Regions from separate parts of the Homo sapiens genome. Here region 1 is linked to region 2. Evidence: promoter capture Hi-C in 16 types of primary human blood cells and fetal thymus (Javierre and others, 2016). All regions are on one chromosome and are shown on one strand. Each heading gives the region's core, a stretch centred on a gene start or on the middle of the fragment in contact. The rest is flanking DNA. Distances are from core to core; before and after follow the strand shown.

Region 1 (6,336 bases), core at 1,536-4,035, 390 kb before region 2:
AGCTATCTGTGACAAACCCACAGCCAATATCATACTGAATGGGCAAAAACTGGAAGCATTCCCTTTGAAAACTGGCACAAGACAGGGATGCCCTCTCTCACCACTCCTATTCAACATAGTGTTGGAAGTTCTGGCCAGGTCAATTAGGCAGGAGAAGGAAATAAAGGGTATTCAATTAGGAAAAGAGGAAGTCAAATTGTCCCTGTTTGAAGATGACATGATTGTAAATCTAGAAAACCCCATTGTCTCAGCCCAAAATCTCAAGCTGATAAGCAACTTCAGCAAAGTCTCAGGATACAAAATCAATGTACAAAAATCACAAGCATTCTTATACACCAATAACAGACAAACAGAGAGCCAAATCATGAGTGAACTCCCATTCACAATTGCTTCAAAGAGAATAAAATACCTAGGAATCCAACTTACAAGGGATGTGAAGGACCTCTTCAAGGAGAACTACAAACCACTGCTCAATGAAATAAAAGAGGATACAAACAAATGGAAGAACATTCCATGCTCATGGGTAGGAAGAATCAATATCGTGAAAATGGCCATACTGCCCAAGGTAATTTATAGATTCAATGCCATCCCCATCAAGCTACCAATGACTTTCTTCACAGAATTGGAAAAAATTACTTTAAAATTCATATGGAACCAAAAAAGAGCCTGCATCGCCAAGTCAATCCTAAGCCAAAAGAACAAAGCCGGAGGCATCACGCTACCTGACTTCAAACTATACTACAAGGCTACAGTAACCAAAACAGCATGGTACTGGTACCAAAACAGAGATATAGATCAATGGAACAGAACAGAGCCCTCAGAAATAATGCTGCATATCTACAACTATCTGATCTTTGACAAACCTGACAAAAACAAGCAATGGGGAAAGGATTCCCTATTTAATAAATGATGCTGGGAAAACTGGCTAGCCATATGTAGAAAGCTGAAACTGGATCCCTTTCTTACACCTTATACAAAAATTAATTCAAGATGGATTAAAGACTTACATGTTAGACCTAAAACCATAAAAAACCCTAGAAGAAAACCTAGGCAATACCATTCAGGACATAGGCATGGGCAAGGACTTCATGTCTAAAACACCAAAAGCAATGGCAACAAAAGCCAAAATTGACAAATGGGATCTAACTAAACTAAAGAGCTTCTGCACAGCAGAAGAAACCACCATCACAGTGAACAGGCAACCTACAAAATGGGAGAAAATTTTTGCAATCTACTCATCTGACAAAGGGCTAATATCCAGAATCTACAATGAACTCAAACAAATTTACAAGAAAAAGACAAACAACCCTATCAAAAAGTGGGGGGAGGATATGAACAGACACTTCTCAAAAGAAGACATGTATGCAGCCAAAAAACACATGAAAAAATGCTCATCATCACTGGCCATCAGAGAAATGCAAATCAAAACCACAATGAGATACCATCTCACACCAGTTAGAATGGCGATCATTAAAAAGTCAGGAAACAACAGGTGCTGGAGAGGAAGTGGAGAAATAGGAACACTTTTACACTGTTGGTGGGACTAGTAAACTAGTTCAACCATTGTGAAAGTCAGTGTGGCGATTCCTCAGGGATCTAGAACTAGAAATACCATTTGACCCAGCCATCCCATTACTGGGTATGTACCCAAAGGACTATAAATCATGCTGCTATAAAGACACATGCACATGTATGTTTACTGTGGCACTATTCACAATAGCAAAGACTTGGAACCAACCCAAATGTCCAACAACGATAGACTGGATTAAGAAAATGTGGCACATATACACCATGGAATACTATGCAGCCATAAAAAATGAGGAGTTCATGTCCTTTGTAGGGACATGGATGAAACTGGAAGTCATCATTCTCAGCAAACTATCACAAGGACAAAAAAACCAAACACTGCATGTTCTCACTCATAGGTGGGAATTGAACAATGAGAACACATGGACACAGGAAGGGGAACATCACACTCCAGGGACTGTTGTGGGGTGGAGGGAGGGGGGAGGGATAGCATTAGGAGATATACCTAATGCTAAATGACGAGTTAATGGGTGCAGTACACCAACATGGCATATGTATACCATGTATACATGTATACATGGTATACATGTGTAACAAACCTTCACATTGTGCACATGTACCCTAAGACTTAAAGTATAATAATAATAAAAAAAATACCATGATATCTTTTAAATGTCTCTAGAACCTGTACTGATAACCCACTTTCTTAGCTGATATTCTGTTTCTCTCTGTGTGTGTGTGTGTGTGTGTGTGTGTGTGTGTGTCTGTGTGTGTGTCTGTCTGTGTCTCTCTTCTTAGTAGGGGTTTATACATTTTATTTACTTATTTAAAGGCCTAACTTTTATCTTTGCTCATTTTCTCCACTGTGTATTTTTTTTCCTATTTGATTTCTGCTTTCATCTTTACTATTTCTTTCCTTCCACTTTCTTGAGGTTTAATTTGCTGTTGTTTATCTATCTTCCTGAGAGGGAAGCTTAGATTCATTAATTTTCCGTATATCTTTTTCTCTAAGAATTGCATTTAAGGCTATAAATGTTTCTGTAACCACAGCCTTTAGATGCAGCTCACAATTTTCATTATCCCACTCTAAATATTTGCTGTTGTAATGTTTCCTTTGGCCCATGGACTATTTAGCAGTGTGTTGCTTAATTTTCAAGCATTTAGAGATTTTCTAGTTGCCTTTTTATATAGATTTCTAATTAACTCCACTCCAGTTAGAGAGCATATTCTGTATAATTTCAGTTCTTTGAAATTTGTGTTAATTGCTTTATGACCCATTGTGTAGTCTATTGTGGTAAATGTTCCACAAGCACTTCAAAATAATATTCATTCTGCAGTTATTCAATATAATGTTGTATATACATTAACCAGATAAAATTGCTTAATTGTGTTGTTTAAATATTCAGTATTTCACTGTTTTTTGTTTGCTTGCTTGTTTTAGCATTTTCTGAGAGAAGTGTGTTAAATCTGTAACTCTGATTTTGAATTTGCCCATTTCTTTTTTAAAAATTCTGTTACTTTTGCTTTGCATATTTGAAGCTTTGAAATGAGGAGCATACTAATATGGGGAAGTTACTTCTTTAAGTCTACTTTATCAGATAGTAATATAACCACACCAGCTTTTTGTTAATGGTTTCCAGCAATATCTTTTCATTCTTTTCCTTTCAACTTGTGTCCTCCTATATTGTGTGTATCTCTTATAAACAACTAATATTTGCATCTTGTTTTTTTAGTTCAATCTGACAATTATTTCATATTATACTATTTATCCATTTATAATTAATGTAATTGCTGATATAGTTGGTAGTATCAAACTACCATCGTGTGATTTGATTTTTATTTGAACCATCTATTCTTCGTTTTTTAATTCCTCCTTTCCTGCCTTTCTTGACTTATCGACTATTTTTGTCACTTCTGTTAGCTTCGTGGTTATATGTTCTTTTTTTCTTTCAGTGGATCTAAACTGCATCCCTGAATTATTACAGTCTACCTTAAGGTTGCACTGTTACTTCTTCTTGAACAATGCAAGAACCTTCAATGCAAGAACCTTACAACAGTTTAACTCAACTTTATCTGCTCTTGCCCTTTGTGCTATTATTGTCATATATTGGTACTCATACATATATTATGAGCTGAAGATACATTGTCATTATTGCTGGTTTAAGTAATCAATATTGTTTTATGTTTACCTACATACTTATTGTCTTGGGTACTATTCACTCCTTCCTGTGGTCTGTTCTCTCTGGGCTCATTTTCCTTCACCATGAAGGACAGACTCTCTTTTGATTTATTGTGATACTGGTCTGCTGGTGATGATTCTGTATGTGGTTTTTTTTTTAATGAAAATATATTTCACCTTTAATTTTAAAGGACATTTTAGTGGATATAGAATTCTAAGTTGGCAATATTCTTTTTCTAGCTTCCATAGATTCTAGTGAAGACCAGTGGTCAGTTTTACTGTTACTTCTTTTAAGGTAATGGTTCCTTTTTTCCTCTAGCAGCTTTTTACTGTTTGTCTTTGTCTTTGTCTTTCAGCAGTTTATTATGAGCCTGCATGTGGTTTTACATTGTATCTATCCTGCTTGGGTTTTGCCTTGCTTTATAAAACTAAATCTGTGGTATTTGGAAAATTCTCAGGCATGATTTATTCAAATACTGGTTATGCCTCATTCCTCTCTCCTTTCTTTCTGATACTCCACATATGTGTATGTTAGAACTTTTGTTAGTACCTCACATGCCTTTATGCTCTGTTCTGTTCCCTCTCCCTCCCAGCTTTATTTCTGTGTGCTTCAGTGTGGATAATTTCTATTGAGTTCCAGTTCACTATCCAGTCATACACTGTGTTCAGTCTCCTGTTAAATACATTCAACAAATTCTTAAAATTCTGATATATTTTCAATTCTAGAATGGCCATTGGATTTTTAAGAGATATTCTAACTATTTTAATTCTCCACTTTTTAATCCATCTTGCGCATCTTTTCCTGTATTTATTTTCACATGCTGATCATGGCTGTTTTTATGTCCTTACTGCTAACTCCAGTAACTGGGTCAGCAGTGGCTCTGCTATTTTTTGTTCACATTTTCCCCCTTCCTTGCTCATCTCCTACTTTGTCACTGTCACTGTCACTGCCAGATGCTGCTCATAGAAGGACCATAGAGGCTATAGATAATATCTTTCAGTAATTAGGGTTTAGTCTTTTATTCTGTTAAGAAAATGGGGTAAGGGACTGATAATCTTGTGGCTGCATTACAGTATTAGTAAGACTCAGTCCGCCACTGGTACCTGCCTATTCTTCCTGGTATGGCCTTACCAGGTGTTTTTTTTTTTTTTTTTTTTTTTTTTTTTTGAGACAGAATCTCGCTGTCACCCAGGTTGGAGTGCAGTGGCACTCACTGCAGGCTCCACCCACTGGGGTTCACGCAATTCTCCTGCCTCAGCCTCCCGCGTAGCTGGGACTACAGGCGCCCTCCACCTCGCCTGGCTAATTTTTTGTATTTTTTATAGTAGAGACAGGGTTTCACCGTGTTAGCCAGAATGGTCTCGATCTCCTGACCTCGTGATCCGCCCAACTCGGCCTCCCAAAGTGCTGGGATTACAGGCGTGAGCCACCGCGCCCGGCCGCCTTACCAGGTTTTTCATTGAGAATCTGAAAGTTCCGTCTGACCTTGGAATGTTTTGAGCTTCCCTCTTTCATTTGCCTACTCTCACAAGTTCAAAATCTGACAGATGTTTCAGGAAGGAAACTAGTTTGTGATTCTTGCAAGTAGGTCCCTGGTCTAGTGTGATTTGGTCTCCTAACCACCTATGCAAGAGTTTCTCCTTTGTCATTATAGATCAGAGCCTCAGCTTGCTGTAGCTCCAGAACACAGAAAACTTCTGTGGAAGAATATGGTCTTGTGTTTGGACCTCTTTTAGGTTATAAATCATTGCAGCTGACCCAGCAACCACCAAAAGGGATTATAATTTTTCTCTCCCTCAGTGGAGTTTCTCTGACTGGGCCAAGGCAGACTGCCAGTCCATGCCCAAAACGGACTATTTCAACCCCATACAAACTCTGACAGCTCTTTTCCTTCCTTTTCAATTTCATGCATTTTTTCTTCTTTCCTAATTGCCCTAGCTAGAACTATCAGTGCTATGCTGAGTAGAAATAACAAGAGTGAGTATTCATGTCTTATTGCTGATTTTGGAGGAAAAACATTTTGTCATTCATACTTAACCCAATATGAAATGAGTTACAGTATTTTATTATATCTCCATAGATTTCATTTATCATATGGAGGAAGTTCCCATCTACTGCTAATTTGCTGAATGCTTTTATCACAAATGAGTGTTAAATTCTGTCAAATCCTTTTTCTCTGCATCTGTTGAGATAATTGTATGATATTTCCTCTTTATTCCATTAACAGGTGAATTGGTTTTGGAATGTTAAAACAAACTTGCATTCCCGGGAGGAAACTCACTTAGTCATGATGTGTCATCATTTTTATGTGTTGATGAATTTAATTTGCTAATATTTTTTATTTTTGGTAGATTTTATTTTTTGAAGTTTTAGATTTACAGAAAAATTGGGAAAACAGTACAGAGTTCCTATGCACCCCTAACCAATTTCTCCTAACTATTATCCTACATAACTATATTTGTTACAGTTAATCAAACAATATTTTGATACATTATGATTAACTAAAGTCCATAGTTCATTCATATTTCTTTAGGTTTCACCTGGTTTTTTGTTTTGTTGTTTTTCTCCTTTTCTAGGATTTTATCCAGGATACCACATTGCATTTAACTGTCAAGTCTCTTTAAGATCC
Region 2 (6,264 bases), core at 2,476-4,975:
GCACCACTGCACTCCAGCCTGGGCGACAGAGCAAGACTGTCTCTCAAAAAAAAAAAAAAAAAGTGTTTCATGATCCACCCCCACTCCCTCAGATGGAGCACTAATGCAGGTCCAAGGTGCCAGCCCGGGTGGCAGGAGGAGCCCAAGCTGGTACATTTGCTCAATGGCATCAGGTGGTAGAAACGCCTGATCAATGGGCGTCATCTGCTCAGTGGGACCAGAGTGCTGGTTTCCAAGGCCCCCTCCCTGTGCTGCACCCCAGCTGAGCATGAACAAATGTTCCTGATTTTCCCTCTCAATGGCTGATGAAATAGACCAGAAAAGCAGCCCTCTGGAAAGGGAGAGGTCCCTAAAACCTGCACCCCAGGAACTGAAAGGGCTCTTCCCAAGAAGAGTGGGGAGCGAGCCTGCAGACTAACATGGGGCTCCCAGCAGGGACTGGTTACAGACATTCCCCTCTCTACCCAAAACTGCTGGGCACTTTGTCCTTCAGCTCTGATGGCAGGAGCTGGTTTCTGAAGCTGCTGCATTCACTCAACGCAGGATTTTGCTGTGTACAGGCGGGCAGAGAGAGGCAAGCCAGCCCGGAGAGGCACCTTCCACTGAATGGAAGGCAGAAGGAATGGAGCAGGGCTGCCCAGCCCCCTAAAAGGTTAGACTCTCCTGCTCTAAGTTGCAAGATAGCTCAGAATCTCCTCAGCCAACATATTCATTTTACAGACGGAGGAAGCAGGCTCAAGAGGGGAAATAACCTGCCCAAGGCCACACGGATGACTCAGAAGAGCTAGATTTCAAATCTGCTATTTTCCCTCTTCCTGGCACCCCCTCCCACACATCCTTGAATTAATCCTGTGTCCCTACCCAGCACCCTGCCCTCCAACACACCCCTCAGACCATTAAAATCTCATTTTTTAAAGGGCAGAGGGTTCCTTCCTGGACTCAGCCCAAGGTGTCCTAAACCCAACCCCAAGGTATCCTAAACCCAACTAACTTCGGCTTCTAGAAAGTGTCCTGGAGCTTTCAATGATGTGCTACCATTTCAGACTGGGGTTGGGTAAAAGCACCACATATACTGGCTGTTTGAATGGGTTTGGGGACAAGGGAGACAAGGAAACAGAGTGCCCAAGACTTGAAATGTTGCTAAATCAGAGATCTTGGAGTTTGCCTGGGAGAAGACTGAGCCCACACAAGATACTTTAAGCCCAAACACAGACTTTAGTAGCCCTTGGGGACCTTCAACTCCCTCTCCAATTCAGGAAAAGTGGGGTGGGGGTAGGGAGAAGAGGGGAGGGACAGAACACGGGAAACGCTGGCCTTCTAGGGGCCCCATGCTCCCAGGCAGGTTCCAAGGCAGGGCTGGTCCATGCAGGCTTCCCTCCACAGAAAAACAAGAGTCACTAAAAGCAAAACACAACAAAAAAAAACTTCTTTTGTTTTCCAGCCCCCTGGAATGTCTTAAAGACCTATCCAGACACAGCAGGCTTCTCCACCCTTTCCTTTCTCTCCTCTCTCCTCCTCCTCTTCTATTCAAAATAAAAATCATGCTGATCTGTCTTTATGGCAACTTTGTCCTGGAGCATTTCAGTAGCATCCAACAAAAACATGTGGCAGACTACATTGAACAGAGGAACCTCATCTCTTTCAGGGACCCCCATTTCCCCCACCTTTGTAAGGGACATTAAGGACATGGGAGCAGGAGGGGGGCTGCCCAAGGAGCACAGGTTACCAGCTAAGAGAAAGATGAAAACTTCTACCAACCACAATGAGGCCACGGCACAATCTATGATTTGCTCCTTTGCACTCACTTGGGGTGATGGGAGGAGGGAGGGAACTGGAGAGAAAGATGAGGCAATAGTCCCTCCAATGTCCCTTCAATGTTAGCCCCGCACATGACAAAGATGACAGTCCTCACAGATGCCAGCAGCCGTCGACTTCCCAAGGCACAGACACACAGACTCAACATACAGGGACCCTGAGGCCAGACAACTGGGACCCAGGGCAGATTTCCACCAATAATTGTGAAATGACCAGAAGAATGTGGCCTAGAGACCACAGACCCAGGGGATGAGGGTGGGGGCCAGGGCTCGTTGACTGCTGAGAAATTTAACACTTCTGCCTGGACTGCTGAAGTCTTTAAGGCCCCATCCCCCACCGCCCGCCCTGTGCCTCCCAGTTTACTTGTGCCCAGAGAGAGGATACCCCAAGACCCCCATCCTGCCTTCACCAGACAGGGATTCGACCAGATCCAGGAAACAAAGGTGCAACTTTTACAAAAAGGGTGCATGCATTTTGGGGTTTGGGTTTCTGCAACTCCAAAAACCGTCAAAAAGTTAATTCCCCAACCCACTCTCTCTGCACCAATTCGCAGTTGTAGTTTCTTACATCTTTTTCTGGGGGTAAATTTCTTACTCATCCATTTGCCCTGGCAGCCTTCCCGAGAAAAATCACATCCTGACTCCTAGCCTTTCCAGCCCACGGCGCAGTTATAACTGTGAACCTTTCGCCTCACTCTTGGTCCCGCTCCCCCGTCTGGCTAGTGTAGGGCGGGCTCCTCGGGGCGGGACCCCGCGTAAGTTGGGTGTCTGTGGTCCCTGCGTCCTGGATGTCGGCGCGGTTGCCTCGCAGGAGCCAGAACGCGCTTCCTGCTGGCGAGGGCCGGGGCAGTGCGCCCCCTGGCGGGAGCCCAGTCACCTCACTCCAGCAGGACCCGGAGCCGGCGCGATCCCACCCGAGCCGAGCACCGTCCCAACTGGCTCCCACTGCCCCCTAAATCTGGACGTGCCCGAGCCTCCCACCCACCCAGCACTCCATGGAGTCTCCACTTCCCCAAACCGCACACACCTAAGGAATAAGGGGGGTCCTGGAGGAACGAGTGGCGCCTCCGCCCCGCCCCGCCCCGCTGCCAGGGACCCCAAAGGCAGCCCGCCCTCCATGCAGCTGCCGGGCCCCACAGCCCTCCCGGCCCCGATCGCCGCTCCCAGTCCCTGGTCCCTCACTGTCTTACCGGGTGGCGTGGCGAGCAGCCCCTTTCCGGGCGCAGCCCTGGCCGAAACCCCGAACCTTGTAACCACACCTGCCACCCCGCGCCGTTCTCCAGAAGCCCCCACTCCTCCACCCGGAGCACTGGGAGCCCACCGGCTCTGCACCTGTCCTGGGCGCAGCCCCCGGCCCTCAGCGGACTCCGGGCAGGCACGGGGTGGAGACCGTCCCCGGCCCCCCAGCCCCCGCGTGCTAGTTTGAGTGGAACTTGGTTGCCGGGCTTCCGTCCTGGGATCCCTACTCCACCCCAATTCCCCGCCGCGTCCAGCAGCACCCCCGGGGCGGCGCGCGGGGGGGTCCCCAGGTCCCCGGGGGCGCGGCGGCGGCGTGCGGAGGGCACGGAGGTGCGGAGCCCCATACCTTCCAGCGGCGGCTGCCGGACCCCGCGCCAAATCCCGCCGGCGGCCGGGGGGAAACTTTCCTGGTCGGAGGGGCGCGCTCGCAACTTGCCCGGCGCCGGCTGCCTTCCCGGCGGTGGCGGCGCGTCCGGGGACCCGCAGCGCGAGGCGGCGGCGCTCGCTCGGGGCTCGGGGCCGGGACCGGGGCCGGGGCCGGGGCCGGGGCCGGGGCCGGGGCTGGGGCCGGGGCCGGGGCTGGGGCTCGGGCGGCCTCGCGCGGCTCCGCGGTGGATCGCTCGGCGCTACGTCCGCCCCGCAGCCTGGAGCCCCGCGACGCCGGCGGCAGCTGCACGCCCGCCAGCCCGCCGGCCCCACCTCCGCCGCCGTCCGTCCCTCCCCTCCCCCGCCCTCCCTCCCCCTCCCCAAACCTCCGCCCCTCCCGGCTCCAGACGCCGTTGCTGCCGAGAAGCGCGTCTCCTCTGCGGGCTGCCCCTCGCCTCCCGCCAGCCTCCGCCTCCTCCTCCAACCCCGCGTCCAGGCCTTGTCTGGGGGTCCCTGGGCCCACCCTCTGCCCATCTCCCCTTCCTCCGCCTCCGACCACCTCCCGCTCTGCTCGCGGGCCCTCTCTGCGTCTGAATTCGGAAGATCGTTGCGGGAGTGGGGAGAGGGGCATGCTGGACCCGAAGTGTTTATTCCAGGGGAACTTTCAGCTGACCCCGGGGCCCAAACGCAGGGGTTGGGGTGAGATCCTCGGTCCTGATCGGGCTCCTGGGCTTCCCGCTGCCGGGGGAAGTACCTGTTGAAAGCCTGGGGAACTCACCCTCCTCTGACTTGCAGATAAGAAAGGGGACTTCCTGCATGGAGGGGCCTGACCCCAGGTCAGATGCAAATGACTTGATTGCAAGGGGCCAGATCTGTGTCTCCGGCCTCAGGGCTGAGGTTCTTGCGGGGCTGGGGAGCTTATCTTTTCTTCTCTGTACTGCTGCCACAGCAGCACTGGCTCCCAACCCCTGACATGACTTGCCTGAGACTTTTAACCTCTGAGCCTCCTCTAAACAACTACCCGACCCTGCCCCAGACAAAACGGACAAGCAAGCAGATCAAAACTGACAGCCCAAGTGAAAGTACTGATGACAGGGGCTCGGGTCGCCCACTCCTCTTCCCTTGGCAACTCTGTTTTGAGTCCCAGCTTGAAGCTTCCACACCCCATCCCCGTGGGCCCTAGGCATTCAAGCACACATCAGCTCTGCAGGAGGCCCCTTGGCCAGCTGATTCTCACTAAGGGGTGACTGATAGGAAGGAGTTGACCCTACTCCTGTCTTGTATATGGATGTTGGTAGTCAGGCCACTGGGCAGAGTTTGGGGGGAGGGGGATCTTCTTGTTTTGTTTTTGTTTTGTTTTTGAGACAAGGTCTCGCTCTGCTGACCAGGCTGGACAAGCCTGGTCAACAAGCACAGCTCACTGTAGCCCGACCTCCTGCACGGCTTACTGTAGGCTCGACCTCCTGGGCTCAAGCAATCCAATCCTTCCAACTCAGCCCCCTCGAGTAGCTGGGACCAGAGGCATGTGCCATCATGCCTGGCTAATGTTTTCTGTTGTTTTTGGTGTGTGTGTGTGTGTGTGTGTGTGTGTGTGTGTGTGTGTGCGTGTGTGTTTTGTAGAGCTGGACTCTTACCATGTTGCCCAGGCTGGTCTCCAATTCCTGGCCTCAAGTGATCCTCCCACCTCAGTCTCCCAAAGTGCTGAGATGACAGACGTAGCCACTGCACCCAGCCACCAGCCAGAGTTTTGAGAGGCAGGAAGTGGCTGCCTTTCCTTGCCCACATTCCAGGAAATGGATTCGTCCCTGTAAGGGGATGTCCCTGTAAGGACTTCAGGGATGTCTGGTCCTTTAAAGAACTTCACCGCGTCACCGGGACTCTTAGAGTAGGCACGTGGCTGGAAGAAAAATCCCTGGATCCGCGGTTTCAAAGGGACCCAGAGTGAGCAAAGCTTCACCCAAGGGGAGGAAGTCCCTAATGGTGGAATTTCTATAAGAGGAGGACAAGGAGAAGGGCTCCACATTCACCCTTCAGCTGCCAAAACAGAATGGAGGGTGGAGGCTGAACACCCCACAGGCCCTGCACTTGTGGAATGCTGCTGGGAGAGGCCCCGTGTGAGCCTCCTTGGACACCAGGCGCCACATACATTTAAAGAGGAAAAACGGGAAGCCCACAGCAAGGGTGCTGGAGCTGGGGAAGTGGAGACCAGAGACAGGCAGAGAGAGGGATAGAGTCTCTAAGGGTCTGGGGCTTGGCAGAACGGGGCAGGCGCAGGGGAAGAGAGTGCAGACCCGCTGCACAACTTAGACAACCAGCTCGGTCCCTGACTCCAGTTCCAAGTCAGTTTCCTGGACCTCAGCCTCTCTCCAGCCTCCATGGAGGACCTGGCCCTATCTGTGCATTAGCTAAGGACATCTGCTGAATAGGCTTCTCTAAATCAACTCTTATTTTTTCATTCTTTTTTAATTTACTTAAGTGAGCTTGTTTTTAAAAAGATATGTTAAATTATTACCATAAATGGAAAGCCAGCATCACATTACTATAAATAGAAGGTAACCATCAAAATAAATACAATGAAAATAAGTGTTATTAAATTCTAACAATGTATCTTTAACCACAATAATAATAATACAGTCTAACAAGATACTGCTGCCTGAGGAGGTGTTGAAGCTGAGGTCCCACTTTCTCTTTGAAAGGAAGGTTACCAAAGGCTAGAAAGGTGTTAAAGACACATTAGCAACAAACTCTTCATCAAGAGCATTGATGAAAAGAGAATTGGGAAGGGACCCCCTCCACTCCCACTCCTCACCAGGTCAATTAGGGTATTGGAGGCCCTTGGATTACC

What was found. The method cuts DNA at HindIII sites, captures the fragments that hold promoters and counts their contacts. A CHiCAGO score of 5 or more calls a contact.
Region 1: a fragment that was not itself captured here is called in contact with the fragment with the promoter of TSPAN18 in region 2 in 1 of 17 cell types (total CD8 T cells); the score reaches 5.4 in total CD8 T cells.

The regions. Positions count from the first base shown.
Region 1 is chr11:45,118,158-45,124,493 of GRCh38, reverse strand. All of the region lies in intron 3 of LOC105376652 (a long non-coding RNA gene), which reads left to right. It also overlaps a transcript of PRDM11 not described here. Among named protein-coding and RNA genes, the nearest start is that of PRDM11, 25 kb to the left of the region's middle. The HindIII fragment of the contact is 566 bases long and covers 2,503-3,068 here.
Region 2 is chr11:44,724,423-44,730,686 of GRCh38, reverse strand. It overlaps TSPAN18 (tetraspanin 18), which reads right to left and starts at 3,725. Exons shown (of 10, transcript NM_130783.5): 1 at 3,400-3,725. The region is part of intron 2 of TSPAN18-AS1 (TSPAN18 antisense RNA 1); the gene reads left to right. RefSeq lists enhancers at 1,220-1,720, 1,721-2,223, 3,939-4,108, 3,475-4,336, 4,337-5,197 and silencers at 2,593-2,762, 3,599-3,748. The HindIII fragment of the contact is 6,014 bases long and covers 1-4,575 here.